Linked DNA regions of Homo sapiens: all the other regions are linked to region 3. Evidence: promoter capture Hi-C in 16 types of primary human blood cells and fetal thymus (Javierre and others, 2016). All regions are on one chromosome and are shown on one strand. Each heading gives the region's core, a stretch centred on a gene start or on the middle of the fragment in contact. The rest is flanking DNA. Distances are from core to core; before and after follow the strand shown.

Region 1 (4,384 bases), core at 1,235-3,734, 220 kb before region 3:
CCAGTTAAAAGTACAGAAGTAGAGAAAGATTTTTATTGATGAAGCAGTATTTTCACTGGGTTTCCATTAACCCAAGACTACACTTATAAGACAAGTAGCTTAAGCTAAGAATGCAGACCATGAACATGGAGTAGATAAAAGTTCCTTGGTGTTTACAGCCTGGAATCCATGGCTTTGTCCTCATTTATGCAATTGGCCTAAGTTCCTTGAAATAAACAGTGCTATGGACTGAATGTATTTATATACCATTTTTATGTTGAAATCATAACCCCCTATGTTATGGTATTAGGAGTAAGGGCCTTGGGAGGTAATTAAGTCATGAGGATGGAGCCTTCATGATGGAATTTGCATCCTTTTAAAAGGGATGCCAGAGATCTCTCTGGTCTTCTTTCCACTCTGTAAGGACACAAGAAGATGGCGATTTGCAATCCAAAAAGCAAGCCCTCACCAGAACCTGGCCATGCTGGCGCCCTGGTTTCAGACTCCCAGCCTCCAGAATGATGAGAAATAAATATCTGCAGTTTAAGTCACCCAGTCTATGATAATTTGTTATAGCAGCCCAAACTCACTAAGACAAACAGCTATAGACACCAAACATTGTCTTCCATGTCGTTGCTGCACAGATAAGGATGTGGAGGCAGTTCAGTGGAGTGGTCAAACAGCAGGGCCTACACTATTCTAGAGTCATGGCTACCTCATTTTGAATCCAGGCTCCCAATTTGCAATCTGAGCTCCTATTCTCCCTGAGCCTTACCTTAACTGTAATATAGGGATACTATTATTAACTACCTTCTAAATTTCCTATGAACATTTAATGAGATCATGTTTATAAAGCACTTAGCGTATTAACTGATAACATAGGAACTACTCAACTATTGGCTATTATCCTTGTTACGGGCAAAGAACCTTAATTCTCTACCTTCTGAATAAAAAACATGCTAAGATATCACAGGATGATTTAGGTTGCCTTTATGTGGAGATTTATGTGGCATCTTGGGAAAAGTGTAGTACCTGGGATCAGGAGATCTTATCCTAGTCTCGACTCTGCCTCTAACCACATGACCATTTTGGGCCTCAGTGTCCCCATCTGTTAAAGTTGTTGAACTATTTATTGCTATATACCCTTTTCAGTCCAATGTTACGCCCTAGAGAAATGCAAAAGAACAGAAAAATCAGGGTCTTTAAATATGGTTGTATCTACAGCATGTAATAATTAGGTCTTTGATCTATAAGTTGAAGTGTTTAAAGCCTAAAAGAAAGTATGTATTAGTTTGCCAAATAGCAGGAATTATATCAATCTGTTGTAACACTGACTATGTCACATCAGTCAGAAGCTCCAATTAGCAGTTAAACATCTTTGATTAATGTTTCAAAATTAATAAAAAGAGTTCATTTATTGTGTTATGAGATATGGAGAGCTCTTTAGTGGTGAAATGTTTGTGAACCATTAGCCTGTGTGCTTAGCATTGATGAAGATATCCCAGCCACTAACAGTTTTATAAGAAAGCAGAAGTTGATGCTAATTTACAATGCAGAGCACATAGCAATAGTAATAATGAAAAATACCCAATAGTGTTGACCATTTATAGTGAGGCCACAACTGTCTAAATATCTTGTGTAGATTACCTCCTTTAATCCTCGCAACAACCTCCTTAGTATTTCCATTTCACAAATAAGAAAACTGAAGCTTGAAATTCAGCTGGAATGTCCATAACACAAAGAAATGATGAATGCTTGTGTGATGAATACCTCATTTACCCTGATGTGATTATTACACATCGTATGCCTGTATCAAAATATCTACCTACTCCCAAAATATATATATACCTACTATGTACCCATAAAAAATACTTTTTAAGAAACCTGAAACTTAAGAGTGGGACCTATTGTCATCTAAACAGATGAATCTCCAAAACTACAGTGTTTCAAGACTCAAGAAATCTACAAAAAACAGTTTAAAAACATGTACATTAAATGTACCTTTTTTTCAGGCAAAATATTGATAATATGCATATGAAATAGCTCTTACTGTTGAAGTCCCAATTTTTAGGGGGACCAGGGATGGTAAAATACATAAATAACATATTGTTGTCATTTAGAAAAATTAACTGGATTACCCCCTTAAGAATTATTACTGGGACATTTTTAGTCTACTCTTGATGTTTTCTTGCTATTCAGCACCCTGTACATTTGTAAATTCACAAAATTAGTGTGAAAGTGCAAAAATAAAAACATGAACTTTAGTATTAACCCAAACAAAATGTAATTAAGGAAGTAAATCTACACCAGAAAAAAGAAAGCCGTATAATGTTTTGCAACGTCCAAGAAAAATGGCTTTTGGATTATCTGCTATTAGGAAGTATTTTGCTCATGTTCCCTTCTCTTTACTCATTTATATATTCATTCCATAATTGTAGGGAATCTGCCAAATATGCAGGAATATGACCCTGAATTAAGGCAGATCATGGAAAACTGACGATGCTGAATTGATGTTGAACAACTGTTATCATGATTAACCCGAAGTTTCTTCTAGAAGTGTCCTTTTATCTCCAAATACAGCTGCAAAAAGTGAAAAAGAGAAAAGTCAACATTGGCCACAATTAGGGCTTTATCTTTTGGTCAGAGGGTTGAAGGTGGATTTACAGATAAATCTTTCACAACTGATTTCAATTATACCTCTGAGTCTCACCCACCATTGGTGTCATCCTAATATCCCCCAAAACACAGAGGTCACTTTGAAAGTGCTTTAAACTCTCTCTCAATTACCAGGCTTACTTGCTGTTTCTTTGAAAATGACTTTCATGTGAAAATGCTCCAGCAACATAAAAGTTAATCACCCTGTATCATTACTCGCATCTAGCAGCAGGGTAAAAAGGAAATTAAATTCTTCTTCATTCTCTCCTACAAAATGTATTAGAACCTCACTCAATCTTCTCCATATTATGTGTAAAAATGGAGCACAATCCAATGCTTCTCTTTTTTACTTTTCTTTTTTTTTTTCAGAAAGCAAAAGTAAAACACAGAGAATGTTCTCAAATTTTCATACTTGGAGAGGAATTCCAGCAAGAGTTGCATTTCTGCTAGAGGTGTATTGTGAAGGTGTGGAAATACAAGTTAATGAAAGGTTAGTTCTCTAGCAAACAAGATGTGACTTATTTACGTCTTCAACATAAACCATGGAAAGCTACATAATAAGTCTGTTATCCTGGATATTTTATTGTCAGTGTTCAGCAAATCCTTTATGTTCATTTTTAAATAATGAGGCCAAATCCCCAAGCTTCCTTCTATTTCAAACTTTTTCGTAGACTGGCCTGAGTATGAAATAGAAACCTTGTGCTTTACTAACTCCGGGGTGCTCAGCTTGAGCCCTATGAATAAAATATGACTCTGATCATTAAAATGTAATAAAAGCTGGTACTTTGAAGCCTTAACCTAAACAAGCTTGCTCTCTGATCTTGGGGGCAAACTTCAGCTGTTCTCTCAGCAGGGCCTCCTCTGCAGAAAGCCCAGGCCTCCTAGAAACCACTGCAACCTGCTAATCTGTGACCTGCACAGCTAAACACAGTCAGAGGCATTTCCACAGTGAGGTCTCCCAGTGTCTCTCAGTGTCTCACCGTTTTCGGGCTACCACAGCCTTCTCAATTTCCTGCCAGAAAGAACAGTGCATGAGGCAGGTGTCAGGCTCAGTTTGTAGAGAGGCTAAGTTTGTAGTTTAGTGTCCCTCATTTTTATCTTCCCAAAAATCCCCTTCCAGAAGAACAGAACAAGGTGAGTTTTCAAACAGCTCATTCTCTAAGGGAAGGCTGGGCAAATGTTCATGAAGATTGGCCAATAGGATTAAGAGAGAAGGCCGTCAAGTAAATAACAAAGAAATGGTGCAATGTGATCCAACTGTGCTCTTGGAATTTCCTTTTTATTGGTGCTAATATAACCCACTCAATAGTGGGTGGGAAATATCCCCAAACTACTGCTGTTGCTGCTGCTGCCAGGATTCACCAGAAAGGATGTTGAACGCCCAGAGAAAGCTGTCCTAAGGCTTGTGCTCCCATGCTGCAGGGAAAAGGCCAATTGTAGCTCACATCCCAGAAGAAAGTCACTTCTGTTCAAAAGAACATAGTTCAAGATTTCTCTCCCATTATCACAGCATGGACAGAAAACAGAACTACTTGACTAGGGAAAAAATATTTCATTGAAGAAAAAGGAAGCAGTAAGGAAATAAATAACCCAGGTGCTTCTCAGAGAAAGGATAAAATATCTTAGCAAAACTAGCAATTAAACTCTTAAAGTAAATTTGGGGCATCAAGTAAAAAAAGTGATAACTTCTGGGAAAAAAATACATAAATAAAAAACTGAGAGTGTAAATTTAAGATCCCAAACATCCTAG
Region 2 (4,297 bases), core at 133-2,632, 240 kb before region 3:
GTAGAACAAGAAACACATGACGAGCCCAGCCAACCAAACCCGAACACATTCAAGCAACAATTTAAACCTGTGGATGGGCTGAGATCATTGCAGACATCTGGCTATTTCATTATGGCTGGGTTTGGGTCACTGTGTGGGCAGTCTTTCCCCGGAGGTGGGTCTTCACACAAGGAAATAGCTCTGCTCTGGGGCCTCCCAAAACTTCTACTTTGGCCACTAGTCCTTAAAATTAAGATGCCAGAGAGCTCATTTTTAAGAAAAATGTGAACATAAGCAAGGCAAAGAACCCAAGTGATATAACAATAATGGAAAAAAGATTGTTTCTTTCAAGATAGCTGATAAAATTAGCAGAAATGAAGGTTTTTGTTTTTGTTTTTTGTTTGGAATGTAGTGTGTTTTTGTTTTTGTTTGTTGTTTTGGGTTGTGTTTTAGCTTTATCCACATAATTGCTTCTGATCTACCTGGTCTTGGTGGTGATACACTAGATGTCAGGGCCCTTCTTAGGGTCCTGAAAGATCTCGTTAGAACCCAAGGTTGGGCTGCGTGCGGTGGCTCACGCCTATAATCCCAGCACATTTGGGAGGCCGAGGCGGGCTGATTACCTGAGGTCAGGAGTTCAAGACCAGCCTGGCCAACATAGTGAAACCCCGTCTCTACTAAAAATATCAAAAATTAGCCAGGCGTGGTGGCACGTGCCTGTAATCACAGCTATTCTGGAGGCTGAGGTAGGAGAATCTCTTGAACCCGGGAGGCGGAGGTTGCAGTAAGCCAAGATCATGCCACTGCATTCCTGTCTGGATGATAGCAGGAGATTCCATCTCAAAAACAAACAAACAAACAACAACAACAACAAAAAAAAAAAAACCAGCGTTGTTACAGGAGCAGCTAACTTGATTCTGATCAAGGCCACCATTCCCTAAGCTTTCCTGGCTTAGAAGGAGTGATTAACAGCACTTTAGAGACCAATAGTAAGAACGAGAGATTTTATTTTCACTGCAATTTCCCACATGACATTTGAAGGCGCAATTGCTCTGAGAAGTTGAATAATGAGGAAACTGAGTCAAAGTTAAAGAATTACTTGCCAGTTGAAGAACTATTTCTCTATCAGAGAAACAGATAGAGCCACCTCTCCCAGGTGCAATAGAGCCTGCTTGTCAATAGAAGTGATTGGGATGAGCCAGCCACGAAGACGCCCACTGTTCTTCAGTGAAACTGACTCTCAGCAAGCACCTGAAAATAATCATGTTTTTGCATCTCTCTCTGATTCACCGGTGTCTTCCTTTGTCATGGATTTCTACTTCATTTCCACTTTATACTTTTTTTATGTGCAATATCAAACTGCTTTCAAGTACTTACAGAATTCTTGATGTGATATCTGGAAGATTTGAATTTTAAAATTTTCCCATTCCCAAGCCCTAATGTTCACGCTATCTTCTTCCCAGTATAACTGAATCAGATGAAAAGAGAAAACTAGGATTCAAATACCCATATTGTAGGCAGACTACAGAAACATCTGTCTATAACAAGAATTTCTGATATAACAAAATATTTTATATGCTTTCTCCCCAATTATTGCACATTGTGTTAATTTTTTTTAAATCAGAAATATTTAATATTTAAGTGAATTGTTAAACATGCAATGCTGGCATACTTGCTGCTGAGTACAAAAGCAATTTTAACACACCATTCAGTTGATTAAGTCATGTGTACACAAGATCACACATGACATACATTCCTTCAAAGTTGCCTTAAGCACAGGGCCTACAACTACCTTCCTAGACAGTAGGATCAGAAGCCTATAATTTCTTCCAAAATCTTCTGTGGCTCTTTAAATGAAAGCTTTAGACAGAATACAAATTAAGCTACATGCAGAAAGAGGCATTTAAAAAAAAGAAGTTGAGGAGCTACCCTAATATTAGTTTACCATTCTTGTTTTAAAGAAATCTATTGTGTGATTTTATAATTAATTAAAGAAAAGGAAAATTACTCATTTCAGAAAAGTAAAGTTAGATCATTTGTGTCTTCATGTTTTTAATGACTCATAGGCAGGGTTTTTTTTTAATGAGTGTTCTCTTTGTTTTTTGAAATAAATATTATCTGTTCTAAATGTAATGCTTTATTTTCAATTAATCCAAGACCTGAGAGCATTAATTATCTTAGCAGCAAGTGAAACTAAAACACTGATTACAGACATTTAAACTTTGACCCTAAGAAATAGTTACTCTTCAACGTGATTCATTTTATTTTTTTCTCCAGAGGTCTAATCTTTCAACCCTTCCCAGACAACCTATAATTCTGTTCCTTTGCCCTCTCTGAAATTACCCAAGTGCTGTCTGCCTTCAGGGGAGATTTACGGTCCTAATAGTAGAAGTGGTGAAGGTCAGCTGAAAGTTTCAGGTCTGTCTACCCAGGAACAAGGAATTCCTAAATAATTTCAGCAGTCCTAAAAATAATGATTGGTTTCAGCAACTCGATGACAGATAAACTACTACCCCATTTGGCAAAAGAGTTTGTTTCTCCACTGAGAAGAATTCATTTGCTGAGTTTCTCTGTATAATGACGATAACTGTGGGCAGAGTCAACGTGACTGACCGTGTAACATCATAAACAAGCCATTAAACCACAACCGCATCTCCTGGAGTTTGTGGGGTGATTTTCATTGCTCCCTTTTAAGTGCACACAGTGATGGTTCTCATGTCAGATATTTCACTTGCTTTCCTTAGGGCTGTGTAAGGCACTGTTTTATCATCCATCATGAAATCTCTTCAGACCTGGCTTCCCAACTTCTCTTAAAAGTTGTATGAGGTGGTTTCAACTAAACTCTTTTGAGGGTTTGGTCTTGAACTAGGTTAATGTCCATAAACTTTGTGAGCTAGAAGTTGACTCTGATTGTTAAAGTCAATTTTCTCTTACCTGGGAGGGGTTTACCTGTGGCTCCCCATGACTTCCTACCCTGCCTGTGGGTCAGTGCATGAAACGTTAAAAGATTAGATGGTGGGGGGATGAGAAGTGAAGGTACCAGAGGTTGGTGTAAGTGCCTGTAGCTCAACGTCCTTCACATGGCATGACGAAGGCAGATATTGAGAGCCACTCATTTGGTGTTCACTAAGCCCATTTATGATTAACTCCTCAGCACCTTCCATATTCTTCCCTTACTAATTGCATGCTTAAATTCTAAAAGCAAACCTTGTCACAGGCGTGGCACCACATTTGTGAACAACTCCACAAGTATTTGTCTAAACAGTGATTCTCTTAATCAATTTTTCAGTCTCATGTGGACAAAAAGTAGAAAAAGAAACATACCAATAGCATAAAGCAAGAATCTGGAAATATCAGAGAGTTGAGTTCCCAAGACTTGGTTTAAACATGTAGGTGGCATCATAAAAAAAAATTATTTAAATAATAGAGAACTACAGTTTTTTTTCTACTCCATACCATCTCCTTTCAGTTTTAATTTCTAGAATTAGGATTATTCAAAAAACACCAAATGAGACACCAAGCACATACTGTTGATGATCTCTGCTCTCAAAGAACATTCAATTGTACTATTTTCCATAAAATCTTCACAAATCATTATCTTCCATTCCTTGGCCCTCATCTGCCTTTCTCAGAGGGTAACATTGACTTCCTCCCTTGATGTATACAACATCAGGGATCACATCTCAGACTTAAAATGTCTTCCAGGAATTGTTCCTTCTTAAATTTCTTTACTGTCTTCACCATTCCTATTATGTTCTGCTTCTGTAGTTTCCTACAGACTTCCCGTAGTCATTTAGTGTTGCTCCTTTTTTTTTCCAAGCTGGATTCATGTACAAATTAAATGACACAAACTATACGTATATGCATGAGCTGTTTGGCTTATTTTTGTCCTGACTTTAAGGTAAAACTCATTCAGTTTTAACAACTAATTATTTTATATCATTGTGCTGGTATGTATACCCCCAGAATACATACAGAAGAAAAGTTATTGGTTTCCTAAATATTAGGCCATTACCTCACTAATTGCTATTCTTGTTTAGAGCTACTTATGCAGGCTTGAAGGTCATAATTTAGCCTGGATTCCTTAAATAAGTTTCTGCCTTATTTTTACTCCTTTATTTAAACTTGCTTTGTCCCTTTTTTCATCCTTCAGTTTGATTATTAATCACTTGTCCTTGTTTTCTACCAAACTTAGATTAAATTTCTTAATAAAAATCTCCCAAATAATAAATCAGCATTTCCTATGCAGCAAAAGACACAATTATTCACGTTGTGCTGAGGATTTGCCATCTATCCACAATAACATCTGCTTCAAAAA
Region 3 (4,138 bases), core at 369-2,868:
GAGGTGGAGGTTGCATGCAGTGAGCCGAGATCACACCACTGCACTCCAGCCTGGGTGACAGAGTGAGAGTCTGTCTCAAAAGAAAAAAAAAAAAAGAGAGAGAGAGAGAGAGACAGAGAGAGACTGCTATACGGATAGAGAAGATGGGATTCTCTCTCTCCCTCTTTGTCTCTGTCTCTCTCTCTGAAGGAGCAGATAAGCCTGAAGGTGCAAGTCCTATTTATCGTCCATACTAAGAACCAGTAAACACAGAGAGAAAAACAGCTAAGATATACAAGAGAGAGAACTAGCCCTGGAACCTTGTATGAGCCTCTGGAACTAGCTATAGCTTTAAACTGAAACCCTCGACCTTTTCATTTATGTGACCCAATCAATTTCTACATAGTATAAGGCAATTTTCAAGTGACCAAAACCCAACCCAAAGAAAACAATTCTGACAAATACGATGGGTAATGATGAGGGCAGTCTGACAACACCCCCTCCATCTGCAGGGCCCGTGCACTGGCAGCCCTAATCTTGGCCTCTGTGATGCTGTCAGCAAGTAAGGCATCCTGGAGGAAGCCTAACCATGAACAAGTCAGGGTGGGAAAGAATGCCCCCACCCCACAACACACACATCACCACATCAACACAAAGGGGGAAAAATCAAGCAGTATGCTATGTACTCCATGAACATCATATAACCTAAGTCTGTTGTAATGATTATAATATTAATAATACCTATTTTACTTTAAGGGAACTGAGGCTCAGAGCAGTTCAGTAACTTGCCCAAGGTCACACAGCTAGTTACTGGAATTTAAATAGCATTCTAGACTTTTCCCACTCTCTGATCCCCTGGCCTTGGGAGGTGGACAGCACCCCTCCACCCACCAGCTCCCCCCAAACGCCACAGGGCATACAGACCTGAAGCCTCACAACCCAAGCCCCCTGGAGTCAGAGCAGCCTCCAGACCCGGCTTTTGAGAAGCCCCAGGTAACTAACCAATGTGTAAGGTAGGTTATTCAACAACAAAAGTAAAGAGCCGGGGCAAGGGAAGCGGCGGCACCCAAGCTGGTCGCGCGTGAAGCGCTGCAGGGGGAAACACTGGAGCTGGCACGCTCGCTCTTGGCCCCACGATCGGCCTTGAACCCCAGCCCCAGCTCCGCGCTCTCTCCAGCAGTTTGACCCCCAGTATCTCCTCTCCCCTCGGCTCTGCCGAAGTCACTGGCCCCGCAGGGCTCTGGACGATTAGAGACCCACACCGCTCCAGCCTTGCCCCGGCCCCCTGCTCCCGTCCCGTCCAGATGTTGGCAGCTGCTCGCCTCGAGGCAGCGACCAGACCCCGACCCCGCCACTGCGCCGCGGCCCCGCGGCCCCGCGGCCCCGCGGCCCCGCGAGCTCCTGGCTGCCCCAGCGCGCCCAGAAGGGGCGCAGCGCATCTCCCGCCGCAGTCGCGCGGCCCCGCACTCGCTCCGGCGCGGGGTGAGCCGTCCCGAACCCACCACCGCCCCCGCCTGCTGCGCTGGCCCAGCTCACCTCGCCGCCCGCGCCCACCGAGCCTCTCGGCGCCCTCACCCGGCTCCCGGCCCAGGCTCCCAGCGCACCCGCCTGGGGCCGGCGTTGGCTGCTACCGCGCGGGGCGGGGCGCGGCTCCTCCCTGCCCTGAACCACCTGGGGCGCGGGAGGGGGCCGGGCCGGGACAGGTGAGCCTCGCCCGCGAGGGAGCAGCCCCGGGCCCGGCTCCGCTGGGAAACCGCAGGGCTCCACCACGAGGTTGAAAGGAGGCCCAGGCGGGCGGCAGTGTGGTAGTGGCCAGCGCTGGGGAGGCGGCAAGGAGCCTGTTCCCACCCAGCCAGCCCGGCTCAGGAAGTGAAAGAAGCACGGGATTCGGACCCCACCCAGCTTAAAGAGGGGAGGGTCCAACCCCTTTCTTCCTAGAAAACCAATGTAGAAACGAGGAGTGCAGACCCTCGGGAGTGAAAATGATTGGGCCAAGGGTGCAGGTGAGTTAGTTCAGGATTGGAAGAACTCTGAAAGACCTTTTTTGACCATTCCATCCAACCCCGTCCCCACCTTGCCCACCCGTCAAGTGATTCCCTCCCCCTTTTTAAATAATGACATTAAGCTATAAATAAGATAATTTCATATAGTGACGTCCTCCCCACCCCTGGACGGTAAGCCCCAGGAGAGGCAGGAACCTTACCCGTCCACTACTGAATCACCAGAGCTTTGAAAACTCAGGGCATTTAATACCTGATGAACAGACTAGGTGGCGCCCAGTCTTTTGCGTCCAGCGTTAGACTGGTCCCCTCGGCCCAGAGCTGCTCCAGCATCATTCCAAGCTTACTAGGGAGAATCCAGAGGCAAGCTGTTAGATTCCGGGCCACCTGTCCTCTCTCTACTGCTTACTCCCCACCCACTGCCAGCCAGGCAGCTGGGATGTGGGAGGTCTACACTCCCAGGGCACCTTATAGTGGTCAAGCAAATCTTTAACTTCTGAAGATGCCACAGACAGGAGAACTCTGAAATAAAACACTGTCCGGCCAGCCTTGCACTGTGGAAACACAGCTCAGAGTATGGGCCACTGACCCAAGATTCCATGGCTGGTAGCAAAGCTGATCCTGGGTCTGCATTTCTAAAGACAGTTGGCTGGTCTGGGGCCTTTGAGGGGCTGCTGGTTATGCCTGCAGTGGGGAAACCTGGGTACAGAACTTCTGCAGAAGTGGGGTCTGGGTTTGGTCCTCTGCTGAGACTTCTAATCTGTCTTTCCAGACCTCTGAGGTCAAGCATCTCCTGAGCCAGCTTGCATTTATTGAGGCCCCTGACAACCGCAAAAACAAAAACAATGGTATTTTTAGGTGTTCCATTTAACAAATGGCCTTCACTCACACACACACACACACACACACACACACACACACACACACACGAGGTAATGTGTCATGCTGCTCCTCACATGTTAATTTCAAGACTCGTTAAAAAAATCCATTCCGTGAAAAAATTCATTTCACTGCAGAAAGCACTGTACAACTTTAAAGTTGTATGGAGAACATTCCTTCTTATGACTATTTCAGTACACTTCCGTGACTATATATTAAACCTCCAAGGCCAAAATGGGAGGATCTCTATTAAGGTGAGGTCAGGGCCAAGAAGACTGCTCCACCCCTCCACTGACAACAAGCCCAACACTCTTAAGGTCTAGACACCCCACCCCTTCAGTGGGTTCTGCACATATGGGTATTTCAGATCTGGTGTTACCTGGCTGGCTACGTCACACTGGGCAAGGCCAACCTAGAAAAGGTTATATGGGATGCCCCACCTAGGTGTGCCCTACCTCAGTTGCTACTCCCTCTATGGTGGCAGGGAATCTGGTGTCCCAGGGTGGAGCTGTGGTGGGGCCTGCACTTTGGGACAGCCACTTGCACCAGCAGGTAGGGCTGAGCAAAGGAGCACCTCTGGGTCTCACTCACATGAAATGGACCTAGACCTTTTTTTGTGTTGGTTTCAGTCAGTAGAGCATGTGATCCCCTGTGATTTAAAATCCTGCTGCTGTGCGTGTGATCTTGGCTGGGCCAGCCTGCTAAGTGATGCCACCCAGACAGGCCTGAGAATCATCAGGAGGGTACAGGTTCTGCCCCAGTGCTTGCTTGCTTGCACGTGATCTCTCCCTCCCCACCCCACTCTCTCTCCTGTGCTTGCTGAGCAGCCTTGGGCATGTTCCTCAATTGTGTGTTTTTCCTACTTGGAAAATGTGCAGCCATGAAATCAGACAAGATCTCTGTTTGAAGTTTTTTGCTTAAAAGGGGTATCTGAAATAAGAAGTTCTGATACTGTTGTGTGGCTAAGTTAAATAATCCACGTAAAGTGCTTGAGCACAGCGCCAGCACAAAGCACCTGCTCAGTGAACAGTAGCTCTGCCTAGCAGTGCAAAGAGAGCCAGCCCACTTCTGATCAACATTAAAATGCTGGAAATAGGGACAAAACCACTGATAGACTTCATAAGACTCTAGAATGAATTAATTAATCTTTACAAATAACTATTTATTGCTATTCTCTACTGGTCTCTAGGAGAATGATATTTGAACTAGAAAATCTTCAGTTTCTGCTCTATCTCTAGTTCTCTGATAATATAATGAAATATAAATTATCCAAAGAAGCA

What was found. The method cuts DNA at HindIII sites, captures the fragments that hold promoters and counts their contacts. A CHiCAGO score of 5 or more calls a contact.
Region 1: a fragment that was not itself captured here is called in contact with the fragment with the promoter of LYPD6B in region 3 in 1 of 17 cell types (M1 macrophages); the score reaches 5.1 in M1 macrophages.
Region 2: a fragment that was not itself captured here is called in contact with the fragment with the promoter of LYPD6B in region 3 in 1 of 17 cell types (M0 macrophages); the score reaches 5.2 in M0 macrophages.

The regions. Positions count from the first base shown.
Region 1 is chr2:149,261,016-149,265,399 of GRCh38, reverse strand. No RefSeq gene overlaps it. Among named protein-coding and RNA genes, the nearest start is that of MIR9899, 67 kb to the left of the region's middle. The HindIII fragment of the contact is 1,590 bases long and covers 1,690-3,279 here.
Region 2 is chr2:149,276,529-149,280,825 of GRCh38, reverse strand. No RefSeq gene overlaps it. Among named protein-coding and RNA genes, the nearest start is that of MIR9899, 52 kb to the left of the region's middle. The HindIII fragment of the contact is 918 bases long and covers 924-1,841 here.
Region 3 is chr2:149,036,179-149,040,316 of GRCh38, reverse strand. LYPD6B (LY6/PLAUR domain containing 6B) reads right to left here and starts at 1,618. Exons shown (of 7, transcript NM_177964.5): 1 at 1,516-1,618. RefSeq lists enhancers at 1,126-1,185, 1,226-1,275, 2,489-2,548 and silencers at 1,356-1,515, 1,526-1,865. The HindIII fragment of the contact is 3,848 bases long and covers 1-2,323 here.